3 separate regions of the Homo sapiens genome follow, and regions 1 and 2 are each linked to region 3. The links are contacts of gene promoters, found by promoter capture Hi-C in human tissues and cell types (Jung and others, 2019). All regions are on one chromosome and are shown on one strand. Each heading gives the region's core, a stretch centred on a gene start or on the middle of the fragment in contact. The rest is flanking DNA. Distances are from core to core; before and after follow the strand shown.

The links. The method cuts DNA at HindIII sites, captures the fragments that hold promoters and counts their contacts. A contact is called where the count stands out against the background at its distance.
Region 1: a contact is called between a fragment that was not itself captured here and the fragment with the promoter of RASD1 in region 3, in 2 of the 25 tissues and cell types used here (H1 embryonic stem cells and spleen).
Region 2: a contact is called between a fragment that was not itself captured here and the fragment with the promoter of RASD1 in region 3, in 9 of the 25 tissues and cell types used here (H1 embryonic stem cells, IMR-90 fibroblasts, aorta and 6 more).

What each region holds. Positions count from the first base shown.
Region 1 is chr17:17,371,084-17,374,985 of GRCh38, reverse strand. No RefSeq gene overlaps it. Among named protein-coding and RNA genes, the nearest start is that of NT5M, 70 kb to the right of the region's middle. The HindIII fragment of the contact is 3,797 bases long and covers 333-3,902 here.
Region 2 is chr17:17,584,150-17,588,359 of GRCh38, reverse strand. All of the region lies in intron 1 of PEMT (phosphatidylethanolamine N-methyltransferase), which reads left to right. It also overlaps the pseudogene EEF1A1P43. Among named protein-coding and RNA genes, the nearest start is that of PEMT, 5.5 kb to the left of the region's middle. The HindIII fragment of the contact is 6,883 bases long and covers 1-4,210 here.
Region 3 is chr17:17,494,490-17,498,757 of GRCh38, reverse strand. It overlaps RASD1 (ras related dexamethasone induced 1), which reads left to right and starts at 2,363. Exons shown (of 2, transcript NM_016084.5): 1 at 2,363-2,862; 2 at 3,074-4,268. The coding sequence starts at 2,577. The coding sequence ends at 3,633. RefSeq lists silencers at 1,643-1,872, 1,923-2,052, 2,213-2,432. The HindIII fragment of the contact is 34,145 bases long and covers 1-4,268 here.

The DNA.
Region 1 (3,902 bases), core at 982-3,481, 120 kb after region 3:
AGTTGCATTAGCCCCTAACAAGAGTTATACTATCCTTTTGAAGCTTTGAAGCCAGGCATTGACTTTCTGTACTCTAGCTATGAAAGTCCTAGATGGCACCTTCTTCCAATAGAGTGCTCTTTCATCCTCACTGAGAATCTGCTGTTTAGTGCAGCCACCTTCATCGGTGATCTCCACTAGATCTTCTGGAGAACTTGCTGTAGTTTTCTCCATCAGCACTTGCTGCTTCACCTTGCACTTTTATGTTATGGAGTGGGTTTCATTCCTTAATATGGAGTGGTTTCATTCCTCATGAACCAACCCGTGCTAGCTTCCAACTTTTCTTCTGCAGCTTCCTCACCTCTCTCAGCCTTTATAGAATTAAAGAGAGTTAGGGCCTTGCGTTGGATTAGGCTTTGGCTTAAGAGATATTGTGGCTGGTTTGATCTCTCCAGACCGCTCAAACTTTCTCCATACCAGGAATAAGACTGTTTCACTTTCTTATCATTTGTGTGTTCACTGGAGTAGCATTTTAATTTCCTTCAAGAACTTTTCCTTCGCCTTCACAACTTGGCTAAGTGTTTGGCACAAGAGGCCTAGCTTTCAGCCTATCTTGGCTTTCAACAGGCCTTCCTCACTAAGCTTAATCATTTCTAGCTTTTGATTTAAAGTGACAGACATCAGGTATGGTGGCTCATGCCTGTAATCCCCACACTTTGGGAGGGTGAGGCAGGAGAATCGCTTGAGCCCAGGAGTTCGAGGCTGCAGTGAGCTATGATCGCACCACTGCACTCCAGTCTGGGCAACAGACCGAGACCCTGTCTCAAAAATAAATACATAAAGTGAGAGACCCAAAACTATTCCTTTCACTTGAACACTTAGAGACCATTGTAGACTTATTAGTTGGCCTAATTTCGATATTGTTGTGTCTCAGATAATAGGGAGGCCCGAGGAGAAAAAGACAGAGAACAGCCAGTTGGTGGACTAGTTGGAACATATGCAACACATTAGTTCACTTTCTTATTGGTTTATGGTGCCCCCAAACAATTACAATAGTAAGATCCAAGAGGACTGGCCACAGATCACCATAACAGACACAATAATAATGACAAAGTTTGAAATATTGTGAGAATTACCAAAATGTGACACAGAGACACAAAGTGAACCCACGCTGCTGGAAAAAATGGCACCGATAGACTTGCTGGATGCTGGGCCACCGCCAACCTCCAATCTGTTCTTGTTTTTTTGTTTTTTTTGTTTTTTTTGTTTTTTTTTTGGGACGGAGTCTCACTCTGTCACCCATGCTAGAGTGCAGTGGCACGATCTCAGCACTCTGCAATCTCTGCCTCCCGGGTTCAAGCGATTCTCCTGCCTCAGCCTCCCAAGTAGCTGGGATTACAGGTGCCCGCCACCACGCTCGGCTAATTTTTGTATTTTTAGTAGAGATGGGTTTTCATCATGTTGGCTAGGCTGGTCTCAAACTCCTGGCCTCAGGTGATCCACCTGCCTCAGCCTCCCAAAGTGGTGGGATTACAGGCCTGAGCCACCATGCCCAGCCAAACCTCCAATCTTGTAAAAACAATGCAGTATCTGCAAACAGCAATGAAGCGAAGTGTAATAAGCAGGCCTGCCGGCATTTGCACTGCCCTAGGCAGAGGTAAGGGAACAGCCAAGAGGCGTGGAGGCCCCCAAAGGGCAGCAGCAGTGGGCAGCTACTACCCCCAGGGCTGCCCCATTGTGACCCTGTGAGAGGCCGGTCCCAAGCAGATACATCCCCCTCCCTCCCATCCCCAGTCTGTGCTGGGAAGCCAGAGACAGGGAAATGCAGGCTGAAGGGGCAGCATCCAGAACAGCCTGGAGAAGGGTGGAGGCTGCACATGTGGTGAACCTGTGAACCAAAAACTATCTGAGACAGGTCTCAGTCGATTTGGGAAGTTTATTTTGCTAAGGTTAAGGAGCTAAGATGGTGCTATGATCACGCATCCGTGACACAGCCTCAGGAGGTTCTGACAACAAGGTGGTCAGGGCACTCTTGGTTTCATACATTTCAGGGAGAGAGAAGACGTCAGTCAGTATGTGTAAGATGTACATTGGTTCGGTCCTGAAAGCAGGGACAACTCGAGGCCGGGGAGGGACTTCCAGATCATAGGTAGATAAGAGACAAACAGTTGCATTCTTTGGGGTCTCTGATTAGCCTTTCACTGAATACACAATTTACCTGTGAGAGGAGGGTAGAGGAATAGTCACTGATACCTTAGTCTGGCTCAGTGAAACAACAGGGCAAAGGAGGCGATCAGAGGTGCATTTGTCTCCGGTGGGCAGAAGGATGGCTTTGAGCTCTGTCCGTCCCTCATCCAAGGAATTTCCTTGTGGGCAAGTTGTGAGGGAGGTATGTAGCTTTTTTTTCTTCAACTTTTATTTTAAGTTCTGGGGTACATGTGCAGGATGTGCAGGTTTGTTACATAGGTAAACGTGTGCCATGGTGGTTTGCTGCAGAGATCAACCCATCACTCAGGTATTAAGACCAGCATCTATTAGCTATTCATTAGGATAAAGAAAGTGGGCTGGGCCCAGTGGCTCATGCCTGTAATCCCAGCACTTTGGGAGGCCAAGGTGGGCAGATCACAAGGTCAGGAGATTGAGACCATCTTGGCCAACATGGTGAAACCCTGTCTCTACTAAAAATACAAAAATTAGCTGGGCGTGGTGGCGGGCGCCTGTAGTCCCAGCTACTCGGGAGGCTGAGGCAGGAGAATCACTTGAACTGGAGGCGGAGGTTGCAGTGAGCCGAGATCGCGCCTCTACACTCCAGCCTGGGCGACAGAGCGGGACTCCGTCTCAAAAAAAGAAAGAAAGAAAATGTGGCATGTAGGCTTTTTTTTTTTCAATCTTTGTAGCCATCTTATTTAGGAATAGAATGGAGGCAGGTTTGCCTGACACAGTTCCCAGCTTGACTTTTCCCTTTGGCTTAGTGATTTGGGGATCCTGAGATTTATTCTCCTTTCACAAACCTTATTTTATAAATGAAGACATAAAGATGGCCCAGAGAGATTCAGTAACTTGCCCAGGGCTGCAGAGCTCCTAAGTGTTAAAGAAAGTGTCAAAGAATGAGCAGGCAGCCACCATGCCTAACAGCCCCCAGAAACACAGAGGGCTGTGGAGAGATGACTACTCTGAGGGGAGGTTTGGAAATGACTTTTCCCAGAAGCTGAGAGCCAAGGCCAAGTAGGGGTGGAAGGAGGGAGAGAGTGGAGTAAAACTCCAGGTAGAAGCATCAGCTTGTGCAGGAGCCTGAAGGCAGACAGAATGATTGCCACGTGGGGAGCCAGGCGAGTGTGCAAGGCTCCCAAACATTGAATGACCAGAGGTCACTCTTGTCGCCATTTTGGTTTTGGTGGGTTTTGGCCGGCTCCTTTACTGCAACCTGTTTTATCAGCAAGGTATTTATGACCTATATTTCATGCTGACCTCCTATCTTATCCTGTGATGATAAGCTGGTGACTGTCCTCCCCACCAGCTCCCATGTGCACATCTAGATGCAAGGGGCCCTGGGAAGTACGTTTCTGGCCCAGTATGAGGGAGATTCCTCAGACACACAAAGGGTGACTTAGAATGCCTGAACTGTCTGGGAATGCAGCACGGTAGGTTTCAGCCTCATTTTACCCAGCTCCTATTCAAGATGGAGTTGCTTTGGTTCAAACGTCTCTGACACTTCCAGAGCTGTAGAGGTAGGAAGCAGAGTTGTCAGTAAGACTGGGGGATTGGAACTGGGGAGGGAGAGAGGAGACAGGGTGACTGCTGGGCTTCACACTTGGGCAAGGGGAGGGATGTTTCCGATGGAAACAGAGGAGGAGTAAGCTTGGGGAGGAGGCAGGTATCAGTCAAGGTTCCTCCTTGCAACCCATGCCAGGCAGTTTAGGCAT
Region 2 (4,210 bases), core at 260-2,759, 90 kb before region 3:
CGATGCGGGGTATCTTGACTGCCTTTCAGGGAAAAATGTTTGCCTTTATCCAAAATCGTTTCCAAAAATCTTTTGATTGTATTACTTTAGTTGAAATAAACATTAGGCCGTTATATTAGATGAGTTACTCTGTGGTGTTTTCAAGGCCGTACATTTTGTCTTCAGTAATTTTGGCATCAGCCAAGACAGAGCAGGGTTGAGGCTTTCCGTGGCTGCTCATCAAAACAATGACAGAAACTCTTGGAGCTTGTTTCCCCTGCCTCTGTTGAGATGACACTGTTTTTCCTCATTAAGCTGTAAATATGAATTCCATTGATGTTTTGAATGTTGAACTAGCTCTGGATTCCTGGGGTGATCTCTGGCTGGTCCTAACATATTATCCTTTGTATATATTGCTGGATTTGATTTGCTCTAATTTTTGGGGGGATCTTCTTTCTTTATCTGGTTTCATTTGATTTAATTAATTTATTTATTTTAAGACAGAGTCTCGCTCTGTTGCTCAGGCATGTACTCAGGAATGCAGTGGCGTGATACCAGCTCATTGCAACCTCCGCCTCCCGAGTTCAAGCAATTCCCCCACCTCAGGCTCCCGAGTAGCTGGGATTACAGGTGCACCTACCACCACACCTGGTTTTTGTTTTGTTTTGTTTTGTTTTTTGTATTTTTAGTAGCGACAGGGTTGTTGGCCAGGCTGGTCTCAAACTCCTGACCTTAAGTGATCCACCCACCTTGGCCTCCCAAAATGCTGGGATTACAGGCGGTGAGCCACTGCACCCGGCCTGGTTTTAGTGTTAGGGTAATACAGTGAGTTGGGAAGTATTGCCTCCCTCTTCCATATTCTGGAAGAGATTGTGTGGAATTGGAATTATTTTTTCCTTAAATGTTAGGCAGAATTCATCCAGGAAACCATCTGGGCTCAAGGCTTTCTTTTTTTAGGTTTTTAAGCCATAAATTCAAATCCTTTAAAAGATAAAGGATTATTTCTTGAATGAATTTTGACAGTTGTGTCTTGCAAGGATCGGTTCATTTCATCTAAGTTACTTAATTTGTGTTATTCATAGTATTCCCTTATTATTACTTTAATGTTTGTGAGGTCAGTAGAGAAGTCCCCCCTTTTATTTCTGATATTGATATTTTGTGTCTTTTCTCTTTTTTTCTTGGTCAGGCTGGCTGGAGGTTTCTCAGTTTTATTGGGAAAATAAATTTTCCCCAAAGAACCAGCTTTGGGTGTAATTTTTTTTTCTCTATTGTTTTCCTGTTTTCAATTTGATTGATTTTTGCTTATCTTTAATTTTTTGTCCTGCCTCCTTTGGGTTTAACTCATTCCTCTTTCTCTAATTTCTTTCTTTCTTTTTTTGAGACGGAGTCTTCCTCTGTTGCCCAGGCTGGAATGCAGTGGTGCAATCTCGGCTCACTGCAACCTCCGTCTCCCGGGTTCAAGCAATTCTCCTGCCTCAGCCTCCCAAGTAGCTAGGATTACAGGCGCCCTCCACCACGCCTGGTTAATTTTTGTATATTTAGTAGAGATGGGGTTTCACCATGTTGGCCGGGCTGGTCTTGAACTCCTGACCTCAAGTAATCTGCCTGCTTCAGCCTCCCAAAGTACTGGGATTATAGGCATGAGCCACTGCGCCCAGCCACTCTTTCTGTAATTTCTTAAGGGCAAAGCTTATATTCCTGACCTGGGACTTTTCTTCCTTACTAATAGAAGCCCTGCCTTAGCCGCATCCCACAGGGTTTCATGTGTTCTATTCTCATTTTCATTCAGTTCAAAATGTTTCTAGATTTCCCAAGACTTCCCATTTGGCCCTCGCGTGCATTCTTTCCACGATCGCTTTCTGTGACTGATTTCGAGTTTAATTCTGTGGTGGTTTGGGAGCATACTGTGTATGCTTTCTATTCGTTTAAATTTAAGGTTTGTTTGGTGGCCCCAAGTGTGATCTGTTTTGGTGACACCAGAGACTGCAGGCTGTTCCCAAGGCTGCCATGTGCTGTGGTCAGGTCCAGCCACTGGATGGCGCTGCTCAGGTCAGCTGCGTCCTCCCGATTTTCCACCTGCGTTTTTTTTTTTCTTTCTTTCTTTCTTTCTTTCTTTCTTTCTTTCTTTCTTTCTTTCTTTCTTTCTTTCTTTCTTTCTTTCTTTTTCTTTCTTTCTTTCTTTCCTTCCTTCTTTTTCTTTTTCTTTCTTTCTTTTTCTCTTTCTTTTTCTTTCTTTCTTTCTCATTAGATTTTTTTTAATGGGTCTCAAAAATCTGTGACAATTTTTTTTTTTTTTTTGAGACGGAGTCTCGCTCTGTCGCCCAGGCTGAAGTGCAGTGGCGCCATCTTGGGTCACTGCAAGCTCCACCTCCCGGGTTCACGCCATTCTCCTGCTTCAGCCTCCCGAGTAGCTGGGACTACAGGCGCCTGCCACCACGCCCAGCTAATTTTTTTAATTTTTTAGTAGAGACGGGGTTTCACCGTGTTAGCCAGGATGATCTCGATCTCCTGACTTCATGATACGCCCGCCTCAGCCTCTCAAAGTGCTGGGATTACAGGCATGACTCACCGCGCCCGGCCCGACAAATTTTTGGTCAAGTTGTTTCCATTCAAAAGTACTGATTTTAAAAACTAATAACTTAAAACTGCCACAGGCAAAAAAGAAAACCAAAGTGGTCCACAAAACATTTTCCTTTCCTTCTAAAGGTTTTATGATGCATTGTTATCATTAACCAGTCTTTTACTACTAAATTTAAATGGTCAATTGAAACAAACAGTTCTGAGACGTTCTTCACCACTGATTAAGAGCGGGGTGGCAGGTATTAGGGATAATATTCATTTAGCCTTCTGAGCTTTCTGGGCAGACTTGGTGACCTTGCCAGCTCCAGCAGCCTTCTTGTCCACTGCTTTGATTCTCTCAGTCACTGAGAGGACCATGGAGGGCCCTAACAAGAACTGTGGATTTGTCTTTTCCACCCTTTAGTTCTGTCAGCTTTTGCTTCATACCTCACCTCACTTCTTTTTGTTGTTGTTGTTTGTTTTTGAGATGGATTCTCGCTCTGTCGCCCAGGCTGGAGTGCAGTGGCATGACCTCAGCTCACTGCAACCTCCGCCTCCCAGGTTCATGCGATTCTCCTGCCTCAGCCTCCAGAGTAGCTGGGATTACAGGCGCCTGCCACCACGCCCGGCTAATTTTTGTATGTTTAGTGGAGACGGGGTTTCACCATATCGGCTAGGCTAGTCTTGAACTCCTGACCTCAGGTGATCCACCTGTCTTGGCCTCCCAAAGTGCTGGGATTACAGGCGTGAGCCACCGCGCCTGGCCACTCACCTCAGTTCTTAATCTGAAGAGTGGGCATGCCTCGCAGGGTTGTCACCAGGACTCGATGACACAGTTGTCACAGCCAGCGTCTGTCTAGCCATGCCCCCCGCCAGGCACTGCGCTGAGTGCTTTCCTTGCACTTTCTCATTTAATCCTCCTGGCGTCCCATGGCACCTCTACCATTCCCACCTCCCAGGCTAGGAAGCGGTGCTCAGCGAGGGGAGATGGCTGCCCGCCGTGGCACGGGCGTCCTTGTCTCATCAGCACTCTGTTCTGCCTCCTGCAAGTCCCTTGCCAGAGCTTGGCAGCTGGTTCACTTCCGAGTGAAGGTTGGCTGGCTTATTGTTACTATTGTCTTCAAAATACAATGTGTATTTACACAGAGACACAGTAGCACCTAGCAGGTTCTGTCCTGGGCCCTGGAAGGTAAAGGTAAAGAAAAGGAAGATGGCTGGGCTTGGTGGCTCACACTTGTAGTTTCAGTACTTTGGGAGGAGGCCGAGGTGGGAGACTCACTTGAGCCCAGGAGTTCCAGACCAAACTGGGCAATGTGGTGAGACTCCATGTCTACAAAATAAAAAAAAATTAGCCAGGTTTGGGCCGGGTGCGGTGGCTCACGCCTGTAATCCCTCGGCACTTTGGGAGGCCGAGGCAGGCGGATCATGAGGTCAGGAGATCGAGACCATCCTGGCTAACACGGTGAAACCCTGTCTCTACTAAAAATACAAAAAAATAGCTGGGCATGGTGGCGGGCGCCTGTAGTCCCAGCTACTTAGGAGGCTGAGGCAGGAGAATGGCGTGAACCCGGGAGGTGGAGCTTGCAGTGAGCAGAGATCGCGCCACTGTACTCCAGCCTGGGTGATAGAGTGAGACTCCATCTCAAAAAAAAAGGAAAGAAAAAAGAAAATG
Region 3 (4,268 bases), core at 1,114-3,613:
GGTCCTTTCTGAAATGGCTTGGGTTTTTAAAAAACCATGAGCATTTATTACTTTTGTAATAAAAGGAAAGAGATGCCCTTTTAAAAGAAAAGACGAGGGCGGAAACAAGGAAGTTGGCTTGCTGCTTGAGGAGTAAAGTCCCAGAGGCCACCTCCTTGACAGGAGGCGCTCTGGGGCATTCAGAATGGGAATGGCAGGTGGGCCTGGGTCTTCACAACCCAGCATCCGTAGGGCAGACGGCCATGCACAGATGGTACCAGGAATCACTGTGGCTGAGGACACAGGCTAGATCAGTGCCTGCCAGTGTCATGTTCCTGATTTAAGGGGCCAGCCTGGACACTGACCAGGGGAGAGCTGGGCTGTGATCCTTGACCCTCGGGCCCTCCACTCATATCAAATGGACCCTCTTGGGACTAGAGCCCCAGGAGGCAATGGCTGTGTGGGGTCCACCTTCACTATAGCCCTGGCCATCAGTCATCCCAAGTTAGAGCCCGGCTGCCCATGCAGTGCCGCTGTGGGAGGCACAGGAAGGCGGTGCTCAGTCTGAAGGTGGTTCAGGTCCGTACCTTAACTGAGCCCCCCCATGTACCCTCAACTGGCTCCTTTATGCAGTGAACACCCTGCACCACTGCAGCCCTATATCCAGGGCTGCGACTCAGTTCCTTCTCCCCTTCTCCCAGACTCTGGCAGACATACCTCAGATGGGGGCAGGAACCAAGAATGGCGGGGCTCCAGCCCCAGCTAGCCTGTCGGATAACTGCTGCATAAGTGACACCAGGAATCAGAGCCAGGCCAGGGCCACTGATGAGCCCTTGGATGCTCACTGTGTGATGCGTGCATTTGAAATATCTGACAGTAAGAGTGAGGCCTGGGAGAGATGCAGGGACTCTGAGGATGGGGGCCAAGCTGGGCTGAGAAACAAGTTAGTGGTGTCCTGCAGCAGCCCCTACAGCAAGTGCCAGCGTGGGAGGGAGGTGGGTAGGCATGGGGTGGGTGGTATGGCACTCACAGCACTGCCTGCAGACCACCACCTGACAGCTGGGCCGGTGGTGCCAGCTAATGGCTCCCTAGTTTTCTCGTAAGTCAGACGTGGCCAAAGCAAAACACTGAGCACACAGGTTGCCTTGAGGAGCAGTGACTGCCTCAAGAGCTCAGGGCTGAGGAGCTGGCTCCAGACAGCCTGTTGCCAATGTTCAGCAACATCACCCCACTCCTGGTTACTGATCGACCTGGTGTGCTCTTGAGAGTACCCCCACCAGGCCTCATGGGTCAATACTACTGTTATTGTTGCTATTGTTATTACCAGGCCCCGCCCTCCTAAAGCATTTGCATATTTTCATCCTTAATCACAGAACCAGAATCAGTATCTTCCAGAAGAGAAAACTGAGGCCCAGGAGAAAGCAAGAGGCTGTGCTGTGCTCCCAGGGCCTTCCTGGCTCGCTGTGGCTTTGAGCTCCAGGTCTCTCAGCTAGACAATGAGAACGTCGGCCCACGCGCGGCACAGTAAAAGCCCAAAATGCTATGATGGACGGGGTGGGCCGCTGGCTGCAGAGCCCTCCATACCACAGAGCATCTCTGGCTGGGAGAAAGGAGCAGGCTGAGGCCTGCAGCAGAGCGCGGGGTTGGGGACCGCTCCTGTTGGGCCCCAGCAAGGCGCCCTGAGACCCCTGCTCCATCCCTGCCGCTCCCCACCCGCCTGCTCCTAGCCTCTGTTCTAGCTCTGCCCGCGGCGGCCACAGCCTCCCCGAGCCGCCGGCCGGGCCCTCTGCTGCCCTCTGGCGGCCCGAGCGCGCGGTGCCGAGCTCCGCGCCTGAGGCCCTGAAACCCCGCGTCCGCCCGGCGGTCGCCTCCCGGGAACAAGAGCCCGGCTGGGGACCGGAGCGGAAGGGGGCTGGGGCTGGGGCTGTGCTCTGAGGACTGCAATATACGGTCCGCGCAAGCACTCAGCAAACGCTGCTGCGCTTACTGGGTTACTTACTAGATTCCTATTCTCTGGGGAAACTGAGAACCAAAGAAAATAAGTGTACGCGCGCGGGAGGTGCAGGAATGGGGGTCCTTGCCCGAAGTCGCAGAGGGACAGGGGCACCGCCGGGACCAGAACCCCGACGCCCCTGCGGCCGCCGAGCCCGCGGCAGTGGAAAAGCGGAGTCCGAGCGCCTCCAGCCTCAGCCCGACCCTGGACTGCTCCCCCCAGCCCCCGCGCCCAGAGAGCAGGAGCCCGGCAGCGGGTGACGAGGTCGCCGGGACTGGGAGCCGGTGCGGGGGAGGCGGGCCCCGCGGGGCGTGACGCACCGAGCTGGGAGGGCCGGGGCGGGGCAGCCGAGCAGGCTGCATATAAGGGCGGCGGCCGGGCGCCAAAGCCAGAGCAAGCGGCCTGTGCCCAGATCCTGGGAGAACCCCAGCCGAGCCCAGCCTAGCCCGAGCCCAGCCCGAGCGGAGCCGGAGCCCCAAGCCCGAGCCGCGCCCAGCCCGAGCAGAGCCCTCCAGCCGCTCACCCCGCGTGCCACCCCAGCGACCCTCAGCCGCTCTCTGCCCTTCTCTCGGCCCCGCGCCCGCCCTCGCGGCCCCTCTGCCCAATGAAACTGGCCGCGATGATCAAGAAGATGTGCCCGAGCGACTCGGAGCTGAGTATCCCGGCCAAGAACTGCTATCGCATGGTCATCCTCGGCTCGTCCAAGGTGGGCAAGACGGCCATCGTGTCGCGCTTCCTCACCGGCCGCTTCGAGGACGCCTACACGCCTACCATCGAGGACTTCCACCGCAAGTTCTACTCCATCCGCGGCGAGGTCTACCAGCTCGACATCCTCGACACGTCCGGCAACCACCCGTTCCCCGCCATGCGGCGCCTCTCCATCCTCACAGGTGAGCCGGGGGCCGGGCAGGTGCGGGAGGGAAGGGCGGGGAACCCTCGGCCAGGGCGCCCCGCGAGCGCCGGTCCGGCTGCCGCGCGCCGAGTAGTGCGCTTCGCGCTTAGAGAGGCTAGCGCGCCCCGCGCGGCCTCAAAGTCAGCCCGACTTGTCCCCTGGGCGGCCACCCTCACCTTCTCCTTTTCTGCTCTCTGTGCCCCCTCTAGGAGACGTTTTCATCCTGGTGTTCAGTCTGGACAACCGCGACTCCTTCGAGGAGGTGCAGCGGCTCAGGCAGCAGATCCTCGACACCAAGTCTTGCCTCAAGAACAAAACCAAGGAGAACGTGGACGTGCCCCTGGTCATCTGCGGCAACAAGGGTGACCGCGACTTCTACCGCGAGGTGGACCAGCGCGAGATCGAGCAGCTGGTGGGCGACGACCCCCAGCGCTGCGCCTACTTCGAGATCTCGGCCAAGAAGAACAGCAGCCTGGACCAGATGTTCCGCGCGCTCTTCGCCATGGCCAAGCTGCCCAGCGAGATGAGCCCAGACCTGCACCGCAAGGTCTCGGTGCAGTACTGCGACGTGCTGCACAAGAAGGCGCTGCGGAACAAGAAGCTGCTGCGGGCCGGCAGCGGCGGCGGCGGCGGCGACCCGGGCGACGCCTTTGGCATCGTGGCACCCTTCGCGCGCCGGCCCAGCGTACACAGCGACCTCATGTACATCCGCGAGAAGGCCAGCGCCGGCAGCCAGGCCAAGGACAAGGAGCGCTGCGTCATCAGCTAGGAGCCCCGCCGCGCTGGCGACACAACCTAAGGAGGACCTTTTTGTTAAGTCAAATCCAACGGCCCGGTGCGCCCCAGGCCGGGAGCGCGCGCGGACTGGCGTCTCCCCTCCCGGCGATCCGCCCCCAGCACTGGGGAGGCGCCACTGAACCGAGAAGGGACGGTCATCTGCTCCGGAAGGAAAGAGAACGGGCCAAGACTGGGACTATTCCCCACCCCCGGTCCCCCATTGAGGCCCGCCACCCCCATAACTTTGGGAGCGAGGGCCCAGCCGAGGGTGGATTTATCTTCTCAAAGACCTAAGAGTGAGCGCGGGGTGGGGGAGGGATGTGAAGTTATCCAGCCTCTGCTAGGCTTCAAGAAACCGTCATGCCCGCTTGAGGGTCAGGACCCACGGGGCATTATCTTGTCTGTGATTCCGGGTTGCTGTGACAGCCGGTAGAGCCTCTGCCCTCCCAAAACTAAGCGGGGGGGCGTGGGTCAAATCATAGCCAAGTGACTTGTTTACATGTGAGTGAAACTGCACAAAGGAACACAAAACAAAACTTGCACTTTAACGGTAGTTCCGGTGTCAACATGGACACGAACAAAACCTTACCCAGGTGTTTATACTGTGTGTGTCTGAGGTCTTTAAAG